4 separate regions of the Homo sapiens genome follow, and all the other regions are linked to region 4. The links are contacts of gene promoters, found by promoter capture Hi-C in blood cells and fetal thymus (Javierre and others, 2016). All regions are on one chromosome and are shown on one strand. Each heading gives the region's core, a stretch centred on a gene start or on the middle of the fragment in contact. The rest is flanking DNA. Distances are from core to core; before and after follow the strand shown.

Region 1 (3,066 bases), core at 534-3,033, 180 kb before region 4:
TCAGGGTTCAGAAAAATCTCCCTCTGGCTGCCAAGCGAGCAGGCCGTGGAGACAGGTGCAGAGGCAGGTGTGGCAGCAGGCATCCTGCCAGGCAGTGCTGCAGTCATCCTGCGACAAGCAGCAGCAGCTCATCCTACCCTCTAGGGGGTCTTGAGGTCAGCCAGGCAAGAGAGCAGCTTGGACTCCACTGGGTGTGGGACCAGCCTGTGGACCATGGTGGTGTGGAGGGTGCCCTCGGCCTGCCTGTGTGAAGGAGAGGCCGGCGTGTTCTGTGGAGCCCAAAGGGGAGCTGGGCAAGCAGGATTCACTTCACTCTGAGGGTCCTGGAGCTCCCACCCTCCTCAGCCATCTCCCCAGAGCCTGTGTGCCGAGGACTCGGCCCATGTTGCTGTGGGATGAGAGGCAGAGTGTCGTGAGGGTGTAAGGAGCGGCGGCAGTGGTGGGAGGAGGGAGCAGCAGCCAGCGCTACGGTGCCAGTTTCCAGCTGCCAGATGACGCCGCTGACCCTGTGGTTGAGAAGAGATGCACAGAGCCAGCTCTTGCAAGCCAGTGTGGCTGCCATAGCACCTGCCGAGAAGCAGAAGGAAGGGTGGCCCCAGGAGGACAGAGGATGCGGGCACATCTGATGCGGGCCTGAGTTTTGGGAGCTTTTGCTCTAGCCAGTTTCCAGCTCCGGGACCCACCCGCCTCGTAGGCAAGACACCACCCAAGAAATCATTTGCTTAACAAACACACTGGGCTCCAACTGGACACCTGTGCCACCCTAGATGCTGGGAACCCAGCCATGACACAGGCACCTGCCCCCAGCTGCTGACCACTGAGGCTGGCTAGCAGCTCCCATGGGGCCAGTGTGGGGTTCCCCAGCCTCCTAACAGGGAGCCAGTCACAAGCCCTCGAGAGGGAAGGGTGCCCGCGGCCCTGGCAGGAAGGTTAGGCTGGACGCTCCCACAAGACATAACAGATGGAGGTTCTAAATGATGTAGCAACTTCTTCACCCTGAAACTGCTGTAGAGTCAGCCATGACGCACCGGTACTTCAGTAACTGCCAGGCATCCGGGACAGCACACCGCGAGTCGCTGCTGTGCTTGGGTTAGAAGTGGTTTGGTCTGTTTTCTTCTCGCCCTCTCTAATCAGAGTCAGTGATTCATGCCCTTCCATCACCTTAGAGAAGGGGCAGGCGCTGCCCGACCTTCTCCAGGCTGGAGCAGCATCGCCTCATGTCAGCAGAACTCAGCTGTAGAATATCGTGGGGTTGGTGCCTTTCATCAGCAGCATGTCCTTAACAACTTTCTGATTTCTTCCTTAGTTGTTGGTCCATTAAGGAGAAAAAAAATGATCTCAGCCATTGCTAAAATATTTGATAAGATTCAGCAAAGCAGCATGTTAACATTGAAAACTAGAATCAGGAGCCAGGCAGATGTGCTTGCTTTTCACCTGTAGTATTTCATGTTGTTTTGACGTTTTTAGCTAATGCATTAAGATAAATAAACAAAAGCCGGGCACGGTGGTTCACGCCTGTAATCCCAGCACTTTGGGAGGCTGAGGCGGGAGGATCCTCTGAGGTCAGGAGTTCAAGACCAGCCTGACCAACATGGAGAAACCTCGTCATTACTAAAAATACAAAATTAGCTGGGCGTGGTGGTGCATGCCTGTAATCCCAGCTACTTGGGAGGCTGAGGCAGGAGAATCGCTTGAACCCGGGAGGCGGAGGTTGCAGTGAGCTGAGATTGCACCACTGCACTCCAGCCTGGGTGACAGTGAAACTCGGTCTCAAAAAAAAAAAAAAATTAAAAAAAGATAAATAAAATAAGCAGGATAAGAAATGAAGAAAGTAGAGTTACCTTTGTTTTCAGATTTCATTTTTGTATACCCAGAAAGCCAAATGTACAAAAGACTGGGAGCTCTTTAAACCAGCTTAAACTTGTTGAAAATGAGGATGAAGAAATATCCCATTCAGAGTTGGAATGAATTTAACCCAGAAGGAACAGGACCTCTACTGAAGAGAACTATGCAGTCTTACTGAAAAATCTAAATAATACCTGAGCGCTGGAGAAACTTCGCACACTCCTGAAAGCTCCAAAGTCAATGTCATCATTTTATTAATGTCATTCCAAACATAGTCTCAATAATATCACTTCTTGGTTTTGACATGGACGCGATGATGTTTAAATTCATATGAAAAAAGAACGGGGCCAAAAGTCCAAGGCCAGTCAGCGTGAGAAGACCGCTCGGCCTCCCTCGGAGTCGGGGAGTTGGAACCGCAGACTGAGATCATGTGGCTGCTGGAGGCCAGGACGAACGTCGGGAAATGGAGACTCCTGCGTTGCTGGTGGGATGTGGTGCAGCCGCTTCCAGGAGCAATTTGGTGTCCCGTCCTAAAGCTGAAGAAACGCATTTCCTCTGGTCAGTGCCACTCCTAGACAGGCCACCCTGCGGCAGCCGTCCTCAAACTGGTCTGAGGACCCCTCAACGCTCTTAAAAATCATTAAAAGTGGGCCAGGTGCGGTGGCTCACACCTGTAATCCCAGCACTTTGGGAGGCCAAGACAGGCGGATCACGAGGTCAGGACATTGAGATCATCCTGGCTAACACGGTGAAACCCCGTCTCTACTAAAAATACAAAAAATTAGCCGGGCGTGGTGGCGGGCGCCTGTAGTCCCAGCTACTTGGGAGGCTGAGCCAGGAGAATGGCGTGAACCCAGGAGGTGGAGCTTGCAGTGAGCTGAGATCACTCCACTGCACTCCAGCCTGGGCAGCAGAGCGAGACTCTGTCTCAAAAAAAAATAATAAATAAATAAATAAAAATAAAATAAAATAAAATTCATTAAAAGTGCCAAAGAACTTTTGCTTATGTGAGTTCTAATGACCAATATTAATACACATTAGAATATCTTATTAGAAATTAAACCTGAGACCTTTAGAAAACATGTATTCATTTCAAAATAGCAATAAACCCATGACATATTAACATAAATAACAATTGTATGAAAAATATATTTTCCAAAACAAAAAGTTTTCGGGAGAAGTGTGGCATAGTTTTACATGGTCGTAAATCTCTGGCTTAAG
Region 2 (3,447 bases), core at 95-2,594, 200 kb before region 4:
CTGGGGCCGGAGCCTTTGGAAGTCTGCGCCCTTGTGCCCTGCCTCCACCGAGCCAGCTTGGTCCCTATGGGCTTCCGCACATGCCGCGGGCGGCCAGGCAACGTGCGTGTCTCTGCCATGTGGCAGAAGTGCTCTTTGTGGCAGTGGCCAGGCAGGGAGTGTCTGCAGTCCTGGTGGGGCTGAGCCTGAGGCCTTCCAGAAAGCAGGAGCAGCTGTGCTGCACCCCATGTGGGTGACCAGGTCCTTTCTCCTGATAGTCACCTGCTGGTTGTTGCCAGGTTGCAGCTGCTCTTGCATCTGGGCCAGAAGTCCTCCCTCCTGCAGGCTGGCTGTTGGCCCCTCTGCTGTCCTGCAGTAGAAGGTGCCGTGAGCAGGCTTTGGGAACACTGGCCTGGGTCTCCCTGGTGGGGTGTGCATGCCACGCCCCGTGTCTGGATGCACAGATGCCATGGCCTGTGCTGGGCCAGTGGCTGGGGGTGCTAGACACCCGGCACCATTCTCCCTTCTCTCTTTTCTTCTCAGGATTTAAAATTTAATTATATCAGTAAAGAGATTAATTTTAACGTAACTCTTTCTATGCCCGTGTAAAGTATGTGAATCGCAAGGCCTGTGCTGCATGCGACAGCGTCCGGGGTGGTGGACAGGGCCCCCGGCCACGCTCCCTCTCCTGTAGCCACTGGCATAGCCCTCCTGAGCACCCGCTGACATTTCCGTTGTACATGTTCCTGTTTATGCATTCACAAGGTGACTGGGATGTAGAGAGGCGTTAGTGGGCAGGTGGCCACAGCAGGACTGAGGACAGGCCCCCATTATCCTAGGGGTGCGCTCACCTGCAGCCCCTCCTCCTCGGGCACAGACGACTGTCGTTCTCCACCCACCAGTCAGGGACAGCAGCCTCCCTGTCACTCAGCTGAGAAGGCCAGCCCTCCCTGGCTGTGAGCAGCCTCCACTGTGTCCAGAGACATGGGCCTCCCACTCCTGTTCCTTGCTAGCCCTGGGGTGGCGTCTGCCTAGGAGCTGGCTGGCAGGTGTTGGGACCTGCTGCTCCATGGATGCATGCCCTAAGAGTGTCACTGAGCTGTGTTTTGTCTGAGCCTCTCTCGGTCAACAGCAAAGCTTGGTGTCTTGGCACTGTTAGTGACAGAGCCCAGCATCCCTTCTGCCCCCGTTCCAGCTGACATCTTGCACGGTGACCCCTTTTAGTCAGGAGAGTGCAGATCTGTGCTCATCGGAGACTGCCCCACGGCCCTGTCAGAGCCGCCACTCCTATCCCCAGGCCAGGTCCCTGGACCAGCCTCCTGTTTGCAGGCCCAGAGGAGCCAAGTCATTAAAATGGAAGTGGATTCTGGATGGCCGGGCTGCTGCTGATGTAGGAGCTGGATTTGGGAGCTCTGCTTGCCGACTGGCTGTGAGACGAGGCAGGGGCTCTGCTTCCTCAGCCCTAGAGGCGAGCCAGGCAAGGTTGGCGACTGTCATGTGGCTTGGTTTGGTCATGCCCGTCGATGTTTTGGGTATTGAATGTGGTAAGTGGAGGAAATGTTGGAACTCTGTGCAGGTGCTGCCTTGAGACCCCCAAGCTTCCACCTGTCCCTCTCCTATGTGGCAGCTGGGGAGCAGCTGAGATGTGGACTTGTATGCTGCCCACATACGTGAGGGGGAGCTGAAAGGGAGCCCCTCCTCTGAGCAGCCTCTGCCAGGCCTGTATGAGGCTTTTCCCACCAGCTCCCAACAGAGGCCTCCCCCAGCCAGGACCACCTCGTCCTCGTGGCGGGGCAGCAGGAGCGGTAGAAAGGGGTCCGATGTTTGAGGAGGCCCTTAAGGGAAGCTACTGAATTATAACACGTAAGAAAATCACCATTCCGTATTGGTTGGGGGCTCCTGTTTCTCATCCTAGCTTTTTCCTGGAAAGCCCGCTAGAAGGTTTGGGAACGAGGGGAAAGTTCTCAGAACTGTTGGCTGCTCCCCACCCGCCTCCCGCCTCCCCCGCAGGTTATGTCAGCAGCTCTGAGACAGCAGTATCACAGGCCAGATGTTGTTCCTGGCTAGATGTTTACATTTGTAAGAAATAACACTGTGAATGTAAAACAGAGCCATTCCCTTGGAATGCATATCGCTGGGCTCAACATAGAGTTTGTCTTCCTCTTGTTTACGACGTGATCTAAACCAGTCCTTAGCAAGGGGCTCAGAACACCCCGCTCTGGCAGTAGGTGTCCCCCACCCCCAAAGACCTGCCTGTGTGCTCCGGAGATGAATATGAGCTCATTAGTAAAAATGACTTCACCCACGCATATACATAAAGTATCCATGCATGTGCATATAGACACATCTATAATTTTACACACACACCTCTCAAGACGGAGATGCATGGCCTCTAAGAGTGCCCGTGTCGGTTCTTCCTGGAAGTTGACTTTCCTTAGACCCGCCAGGTCAAGTTAGCCGCGTGACGGACATCCAGGCGTGGGACGTGGTCAGGGCAGGGCTCATTCATTGCCCACTAGGATCCCACTGGCGAAGATGGTCTCCATATCAGCTCTCTGCAGAAGGGAGGAAGACTTTATCATGTTCCTAAAAATCTGTGGCAAGCACCCATCGTATTATCCAAATTTTGTTGCAAATGTGATTAATTTGGTTGTCAAGTTTTGGGGGTGGGCTGTGGGGAGATTGCTTTTGTTTTCCTGCTGGTAATATCGGGAAAGATTTTAATGAAACCAGGGTAGAATTGTTTGGCAATGCACTGAAGCGTGTTTCTTTCCCAAAATGTGCCTCCCTTCCGCTGCGGGCCCAGCTGAGTCTATGTAGGTGATGTTTCCAGCTGCCAAGTGCTCTTTGTTACTGTCCACCCTCATTTCTGCCAGCGCATGTGTCCTTTCAAGGGGAAAATGTGAAGCTGAACCCCCTCCAGACACCCAGAATGTAGCATCTGAGAAGGCCCTGTGCCCTAAAGGACACCCCTCGCCCCCATCTTCATGGAGGGGGTCATTTCAGAGCCCTCGGAGCCAATGAACAGCTCCTCCTCTTGGAGCTGAGATGAGCCCCACGTGGAGCTCGGGACGGATAGTAGACAGCAATAACTCGGTGTGTGGCCGCCTGGCAGGTGGAACTTCCTCCCGTTGCGGGGTGGAGTGAGGTTAGTTCTGTGTGTCTGGTGGGTGGAGTCAGGCTTCTCTTGCTACCTGTGAGCATCCTTCCCAGCAGACATCCTCATCGGGCTTTGTCCCTCCCCCGCTTCCTCCCTCTGCGGGGAGGACCCGGGACCACAGCTGCTGGCCAGGGTAGACTTGGAGCTGTCCTCCAGAGGGGTCACGTGTAGGAGTGAGAAGAAGGAAGATCTTGAGAGCTGCTGAGGGACCTTGGAGAGCTCAGGATGGCTCAGACGAGGACACTCGCTTGCCGGGCCTGGGCCTCCTGGGAAGGAGGGAGCTGCTCAGAATGCCGCATGACAACTGA
Region 3 (3,226 bases), core at 727-3,226, 230 kb before region 4:
CCCAAATAGCTGGTATTAACAGGCATGCACCACCACGCCCGGCTAATTTTTGTATTTTTAGTAGAGACGGGATTTCACCATGTTGGCCAGGCTGGTCTCAAACTCCTGACCTCAGGTGATCCGCCCACCTCGGCCTCCCAAAGTGCTGGGATTATAGGCCTGAGCCACCACGCCCGGCCTAAAATTGTTTATCTTAAGATTCATGCAGTGAAAGCTAACTTACTGAGTGATAAATTTGCTTAGTGATCTGTTTATTAGGTTTTCCAAATTTGCTAATTGGGCTTTGAACAGCTGTAAAAGTTCTGACTGTAAAAGAAAGCTTCAACTTTTGGCATTCATGATGCTTTTCTGAGTATTAAACTAAGATAGATGTTTTACCTGAAGGATCGGCCACCAATCTTTAAATGGCTAAACAAAAGGGTTGCTAAAACATAATCCAAATTGACATAAGAAATACCATTTTTCCAACCAAAATTTTGGCATTCATATGGCTACTTTTACGTATTTCAGCTGCATTTGAACATCTTTTTCAAACTTTAGGGTGGTTGGTGTATCACTGAGGTCTTGGATGACACTTTAGCTTTGATTTTGTTTTTATGAATTAAAATTGTCATACCAAAATTTTTATTTCAAGCAAATCCAAGAGCATAAAAAATTAAAATATTACTTAAAATACTAAGAGAGAACAGATATATATTTTACTAAGCATATGTTGAATGAAATTGTTCAAATATTTATAACAGGCATAGAGTAGAATTTTCTTAAAAATATTTTTGATGGTATACCAATTTGTATTTTCTCAGAAACATTTGCCTTATTCTTTTTTCTGTTGTGTTTTTCTTACCTGATTGAAAGCTCATAATCTGTTGTTATTGTTTGTTAACCTTTAATGCTCTGATTTCAGGAGTTCAACCTAAGCCTGCTAGCTCCATGCTTAAGCCTAGGGATGAGTGAAATTTCTGGTGGCCAGAAGAGTGCCCTTTTTGAAGCAGCCCGTGAGGTGACTCTGGCCCGTGTGAGCGGCACCGTGCAGCAGCTCCCTGCTGTCCATCATGTCTTCCAGCCCGAGCTGCCTGCAGAGCCGGCGGCCTACTGGAGCAAGTTGAATGATCTGTTTGGTAATTAAAATTAAAATTTATCTTATTTTTAAAAAGCATTCCAGGGCCAGTATAGTACTTTGCACCAAGTAAATGTACAATAAAGGCAGTGGATCTAATACATTGAAAGCGTTTACAGAGGTAGCTAAAGAGCAGCACGGGTGTCCTCGGCTCAGAATTTCTTCCTGTGTGTTTGCCACTTTGCCATTCATTGACATGGTCATGGACATAGGGCTCTAAGCCCTTGAGGAAGGCTGGGCCAGACCTCAGGGGAGATGCAGCCCCAAACCACGTGCAGTCCTGTGGACGGATGTGTAGATGTGCCACTGAGGAACAATGTCTTGAGCTTTCATCAGATTCTCAGAGAATTGCTTGACTGCCTTTCGAAGTTGATGCATCTGTGCTCACGTTTGCACCCACCCACGAGGTCCTTCTGTTTCAGGGGATGCTGCACTGTATCAGTCCCTGCCCACTCTGGCCCGGGCCCTGGCACAGTACCTGGTGGTGGTCTCCAAACTGCCCAGTCATTTGCACCTTCCTCCTGAGAAAGAGAAGGACATTGTGAAATTCGTGGTGGCAACCCTTGAGGTAAGAGGCAGCTCGGGAGCTCAGTGTTGCTGTGGGGAGGGGGCATGGGGCTGACACTGAAGAGGGTAAAGCAGTTTTATTTGAAAAGCAAGATCTCTGACCAGTCCAGTCACTTTTCCATCTCAGCCTGGCAGTAAGTCTTGTCACCGTCAAGTTATTGTAGCCATCCTTCACCCTCACCTCGCCACTCCTCATGGTGGCCTGTGAGGTCAGCCAGGTCCCCTTCTCATCTGCACCTACCATGTTAGGTGGATCCTAATTTTAGAGACATGAAAAATAATCATCTGGAAGTACTTTATGTCTTAAGTTGGCCTGGACATGTCAGCCAAGGAATACTTACTTGGTTTGTGTTAGTGCTTGTAATTCGCCCCCAGAATGTGTACACGTTCTGGATGCATTAAAGTCTGGCCTGTATCCTTAAAGGGCCATCGCTGTGCTGCCTGCCCTCAGCAAGGACACACTTTGCAGACCCACAGAGGCTCCGCCTCCACCTCACACCAAAGAAAGGGAGGAGTCCAAAGGGCATCAGTGCCATTACTCACAAAATGATAAATACACCCTTATTCTGAACCACGTGGAGTCATATGGTTTGTGATCCCTGTCCTTCAGGTTTCAGCTTAGTGGGGAAGTGGGAAAGTCAGCGTGTGATCACAGCACAGGGTGATTGCTGCTGATTATATTATGTGCCTGCTGTATGCAGGATGAAATACTTTATATGCGTCATCTTATTTGACTCTCACAACCCCCTGTGAGATAGGCTCTGTTACTCCCATTTGACAGGTGAGGAAAGCAAGGCTTAGAGAATTTCAGTGACTTGCCCAGGTCCTCTGAGCTAGGAAGTAGCCATTCTGGCATTTGAACCCAAGGCCTGCTATCCCTAGAACCCACGCTCTCAAATTCAACCTATGACAGAGGCAAGCCCTGGTGCTGTGGGAGCCCCAAGGAAGAGCCTCTGGCCTGGTGGCCACGTAGCCCAGGAGAGATTTCTACAGGAGCCCACAGCGCTGAAGGAGAGAGAGGCAGCAGAGTAAGGGGGCTTTGTGGCAGAGAGGGGACTGGCACTTTGGGGAATAGGTGGGTCAGGACTGAATGTAATGGAGCCATGTCAGAGCTGTCCTTCTGGAAGGGCAAGGGCACCTGGACGCGCTGCCCCTCAGTGCTTTGGACGGTTCCACAACTGTGATTCACACGGCTTCCCCAAACGAAGGTACACGAGTGGGCATTCTGTGACTCGGTACTTCCCTTTAGGCCCTGTCCTGGCATTTGATCCATGAGCAGATCCCGCTGAGTCTGGATCTCCAGGCAGGGCTGGACTGCTGCTGCCTGGCCCTGCAGCTGCCTGGCCTCTGGAGCGTGGTCTCCTCCACAGAGTTTGTGACCCACGCCTGCTCCCTCATCTACTGTGTGCACTTCATCCTGGAGGCCGGTGAGTCCCCGTCCATGAACGGTGGGTTCCTATCATAGTTCCTGTCTGCTTCACCATGTTTTTATTTTGTGCTGCCTGTTTGCCAGGTACTAAGCTAGGAATTGGGGATGGAGAG
Region 4 (3,216 bases), core at 464-2,963:
AGGAGGGTCTGATTACAGAAAGGGAACCAGGTGTGGCTGCAGGGGAGGCCGGGGCCTTGGGGGCTGGGTTGAGTCGGAAGAGGCAGGGCCATTCCCCAGGTTGCCTTGATGGAACCCCTAAAGCCAAGTACCCTCGGTACAGGGTGGTTGGTGAGCTCCTCAGACCATCCTAGAGGCCCGAGAGCACAGCCAGTCCCCTGGGGCTGTTCTAGAAGCTTCCAGGGAGTGGATGCACCCCACTTAGTGGTGCTCTAGGAAGGGGGCTGGGGGAGGGGTCGGAATGGAAGATGAAGCCCAGTGCCAGCTGTGTGTACCACCCACCACAAGCCCGCATCCATCCTGCTCCCAGCACCCACCATGCCTCCACATTCACCGTGCCCCCAGGGCCCACCATGACCTCCCCCCCAACCCCCAACCCCCCATTCACCGTGCCCCCAGCACCCACCATGCCTCCACATTCACCGTGCCCCCAGGGCCCACCATGACCTCCCCCCCAACCCCCAACCCCCCATTCACCGTGCCCCAGGGCCCACCATGACCTCCCCCCCAACCCCCAACCCCCCATTCACCGTGCCCCCAGGGCCCACCACGCCTCCATGTGCACTGTGCCCCCTGGGGCCCACGGTGTCAAGCTGGGTGGTCAGTGGGTGTCCATTCTCTCTCCCTCTGCACAGACAGGCAAATGGGGGGCAGAGAGAGGGGTTTTAGGGGATACAGGGAGGCAGCTTCAGCCCTCGCTGGTCTCCAGGCCACAGTGGTTCACTCACCCCTCCTCCCACCTCGGCAGCCCTGGGATGTCGCTGCTGACTCAGGAGGAACCCGAGGTGCCGTAGCGGCTGCTCCAATATTGCAGAAGAGGTTCCTCAGGCAGCTCTGCCCACAGCCCCAAGTCACGAATTCCGTGACTCCAGCTCCATCCCAGGCCCCAGGGTACCTGGCCCAGGGTTGTGCTGCCGCAGACTTGGCCTGTACCATCCAGGCGGCGGTGGGGAGCTGGGGTTGGAAAGGCTTCTTGGAGTGGACTCCTGGGTCTGTCTGGGAGACGGGGAGGAAGGGACACTCTGAACATCACCAGGGGCTGCTGGGGGGCCCTGGCCACCCCCAGAGTCAGAACAGGCAGGTGGGGCAGGATCTCAGGTCATCCTATGCTACACTCAGCCATTGCGTGGCCCCTCTCCTCCCTGTGCCTGGCCTTTTGGCCAGCCCTGGGGCCACCGAGAGGATGCAGCACCGAACCCTCCAGGAGCCCCCAGTGCTGCCGTCTGTGGGACAGGGACAATCCCATCCCCACTGCTACTGTCTGTGCTGTGCTGGGCACAGAGCTGGACACCTCCAAGGCCCAGCGCCCGTAGTGGCTCTCATCATGGACAATTCACAGGCAGATGGTGGCCAGCTCTGTGGCCTGCAGGGACTGGGAGCGGCGCCAGACCATCTAGGCCCCAACCTATCTGCATTATCCTGGAAGACTTCCTGGAGGAGGCTTCTAAGCTGAGGCCCAAGGACCATGTCAGGTCTAGGACTAGGACCAGTGCAGGCCGAGGCCAGAGAGACAGCTGGGCTTCCAGGTAGGGTCAAAGTGAGGTGGGCAGCAGGTGTGGGGGCCAGGGGACTCGGGGACTTCCTCTCCGGCTGGGCCCGCCTGACGTGGGAGGCAGCCAGGGTTAATCATTTCCACGAAGCCTTGACCCCACCTGCCTTGGCCGCTCTGCTCCCGCCTCCCACTGCCCCTCAGGCCAGCTCAGGAGCCATGGGGCGCTGGGCCTGGGTCCCCAGCCCCTGGCCCCCACCGGGGCTGGGCCCCTTCCTCCTCCTCCTCCTGCTGCTGCTGCTGCTGCCACGGGGGTTCCAGCCCCAGCCTGGCGGGGTGAGCACTGACCTTGTCGCAGTGCGACCAGAGGTTCCCAGTGGCTACTTGGGGTCCTTGGGAGGAGGCCAGAGGGAGGGTCGCCACAGAGCGTGGGGATTTGAGGGGGCGGGGGTCCGAGCAGGGGGCTTACGTTGAAAGCTGGCCCTCACAGGGCAGGTGGGTGCTGGACTGGCCTTGGAGGCTGGGGCCTGGGCTCACGGAGCCCCACCTGGGGGCTGTCATCCCTGTGCGGCCTGGCCTGGGCCCCTATGGGTCTGGGGGCTGCCCCCTCTCTCTGGACCTCTGTTGGGTCTGGATGCGTGAGGTTGGGGGAACCTCCCAGGGCCTCCTAGCTGCTCCCATCACCAAAAACTGACGTCAGGGTTTAAGCTTGGTGGGTAGCAGTGCCTGGGCCTGGGCAGTGACCCTGAGCAGGTGTTAACTAGGGGCCGAGGGCGGGGAAGGTGTCAGGGCCTGGCTGAGGCCTCAGGAATGTCGTGTGTCCTCCTGGAACCTGCTCCGAGATCTGGGGGCCCCAGTATGGAAACAGGCTCAGGGCTGTGACCTCCTGCCCGGCAGGACCTGAGTGTGAGGGTCTGTCCCACACTGACACCCTTTCTGCTCCTCCTAGAACCGTACGGAGTCCCCAGAACCTAATGCCACAGCGACCCCTGCGATCCCCACTATCCTGGTGACCTCTGTGACCTCTGAGACCCCAGCAACAAGTGCTCCAGAGGCAGAGGGACCCCAAAGTGGGGGGCTCCCGCCCCCGCCCAGGGCAGTTCCCTCGAGCAGTAGCCCCCAGGCCCAAGGTGGGTCAGGTGGGCCTGGGAGGAGGTGTCGTGCTTCACCTTAGGGCTGGGTGGGAGGAGCATGGCTGCGGCTGGAGGTCCTGAGGGGCTCGGGTGCCCCTCGAGGGAGCCCTGACCCTGCCACCCCCTCCCCACAGCACTCACCGAGGACGGGAGGCCCTGCAGGTTCCCCTTCCGCTACGGGGGCCGCATGCTGCATGCCTGCACTTCGGAGGGCAGTGCACACAGGAAGTGGTGGGTCCGGGCAGCCGGGGCACCCGAGCTGGGGTCACCTGCCCCACGCTGCCTGCTTTTCTGGGAGCCGGGCACACAGTAGGCGCTCACCACGCAGCAGGCGGACCCAGTGAACCCAGAGACCCTCCAGGGTGGTGGGGTGGGGTGGGGGGCCTCTGCCTGGGACCCCCATGCACGCAGGTGTCGCCCCCCAGGTGTGCCACAACTCACAACTACGACCGGGACAGGGCCTGGGGCTACTGTGTGGAGGCCACCCCGCCTCCAGGGGGCCCAGGTGGGTGCTGGGTTGGGTAGCCTGGGGCGGGCAGGGGGCACTGGGCCAGG

What was found. Contacts are between HindIII fragments. The CHiCAGO score rates a contact against its expected background, and 5 or more counts as called.
Region 1: a contact is called between a fragment that was not itself captured here and the fragment with the promoter of HGFAC in region 4, in 4 of 17 cell types (endothelial precursors, M1 macrophages, M0 macrophages and 1 more). The highest score is 8.3, in endothelial precursors.
Region 2: a contact is called between a fragment that was not itself captured here and the fragment with the promoter of HGFAC in region 4, in 2 of 17 cell types (M0 macrophages and endothelial precursors). The highest score is 7.3, in M0 macrophages.
Region 3: a fragment that was not itself captured here is called in contact with the fragment with the promoter of HGFAC in region 4 in 11 of 17 cell types (naive CD4 T cells, endothelial precursors, naive CD8 T cells and 8 more); the score reaches 12.9 in naive CD4 T cells.

What each region holds. Positions count from the first base shown.
Region 1 is chr4:3,257,270-3,260,335 of GRCh38, forward strand. No RefSeq gene overlaps it. Among named protein-coding and RNA genes, the nearest start is that of MSANTD1, 9.6 kb to the left of the region's middle. The HindIII fragment of the contact is 4,206 bases long and covers 1-3,066 here.
Region 2 is chr4:3,240,092-3,243,538 of GRCh38, forward strand. It overlaps HTT (huntingtin), which reads left to right. Exons shown (of 67, transcript NM_001388492.1): 67 at 1-3,447. Among named protein-coding and RNA genes, the nearest start is that of MSANTD1, 7.3 kb to the right of the region's middle. The HindIII fragment of the contact is 461 bases long and covers 1,115-1,575 here.
Region 3 is chr4:3,211,025-3,214,250 of GRCh38, forward strand. It overlaps HTT (huntingtin), which reads left to right. Exons shown (of 67, transcript NM_001388492.1): 48 at 905-1,118; 49 at 1,540-1,685; 50 at 2,934-3,111. Among named protein-coding and RNA genes, the nearest start is that of MSANTD1, 37 kb to the right of the region's middle. RefSeq lists enhancers at 2,427-2,927, 2,928-3,226. The HindIII fragment of the contact is 3,319 bases long and covers 318-3,226 here.
Region 4 is chr4:3,440,255-3,443,470 of GRCh38, forward strand. It overlaps HGFAC (HGF activator), which reads left to right and starts at 1,714. Exons shown (of 14, transcript NM_001528.4): 1 at 1,714-1,864; 2 at 2,478-2,658; 3 at 2,796-2,892; 4 at 3,087-3,166. The coding sequence starts at 1,748. The HindIII fragment of the contact is 2,021 bases long and covers 214-2,234 here.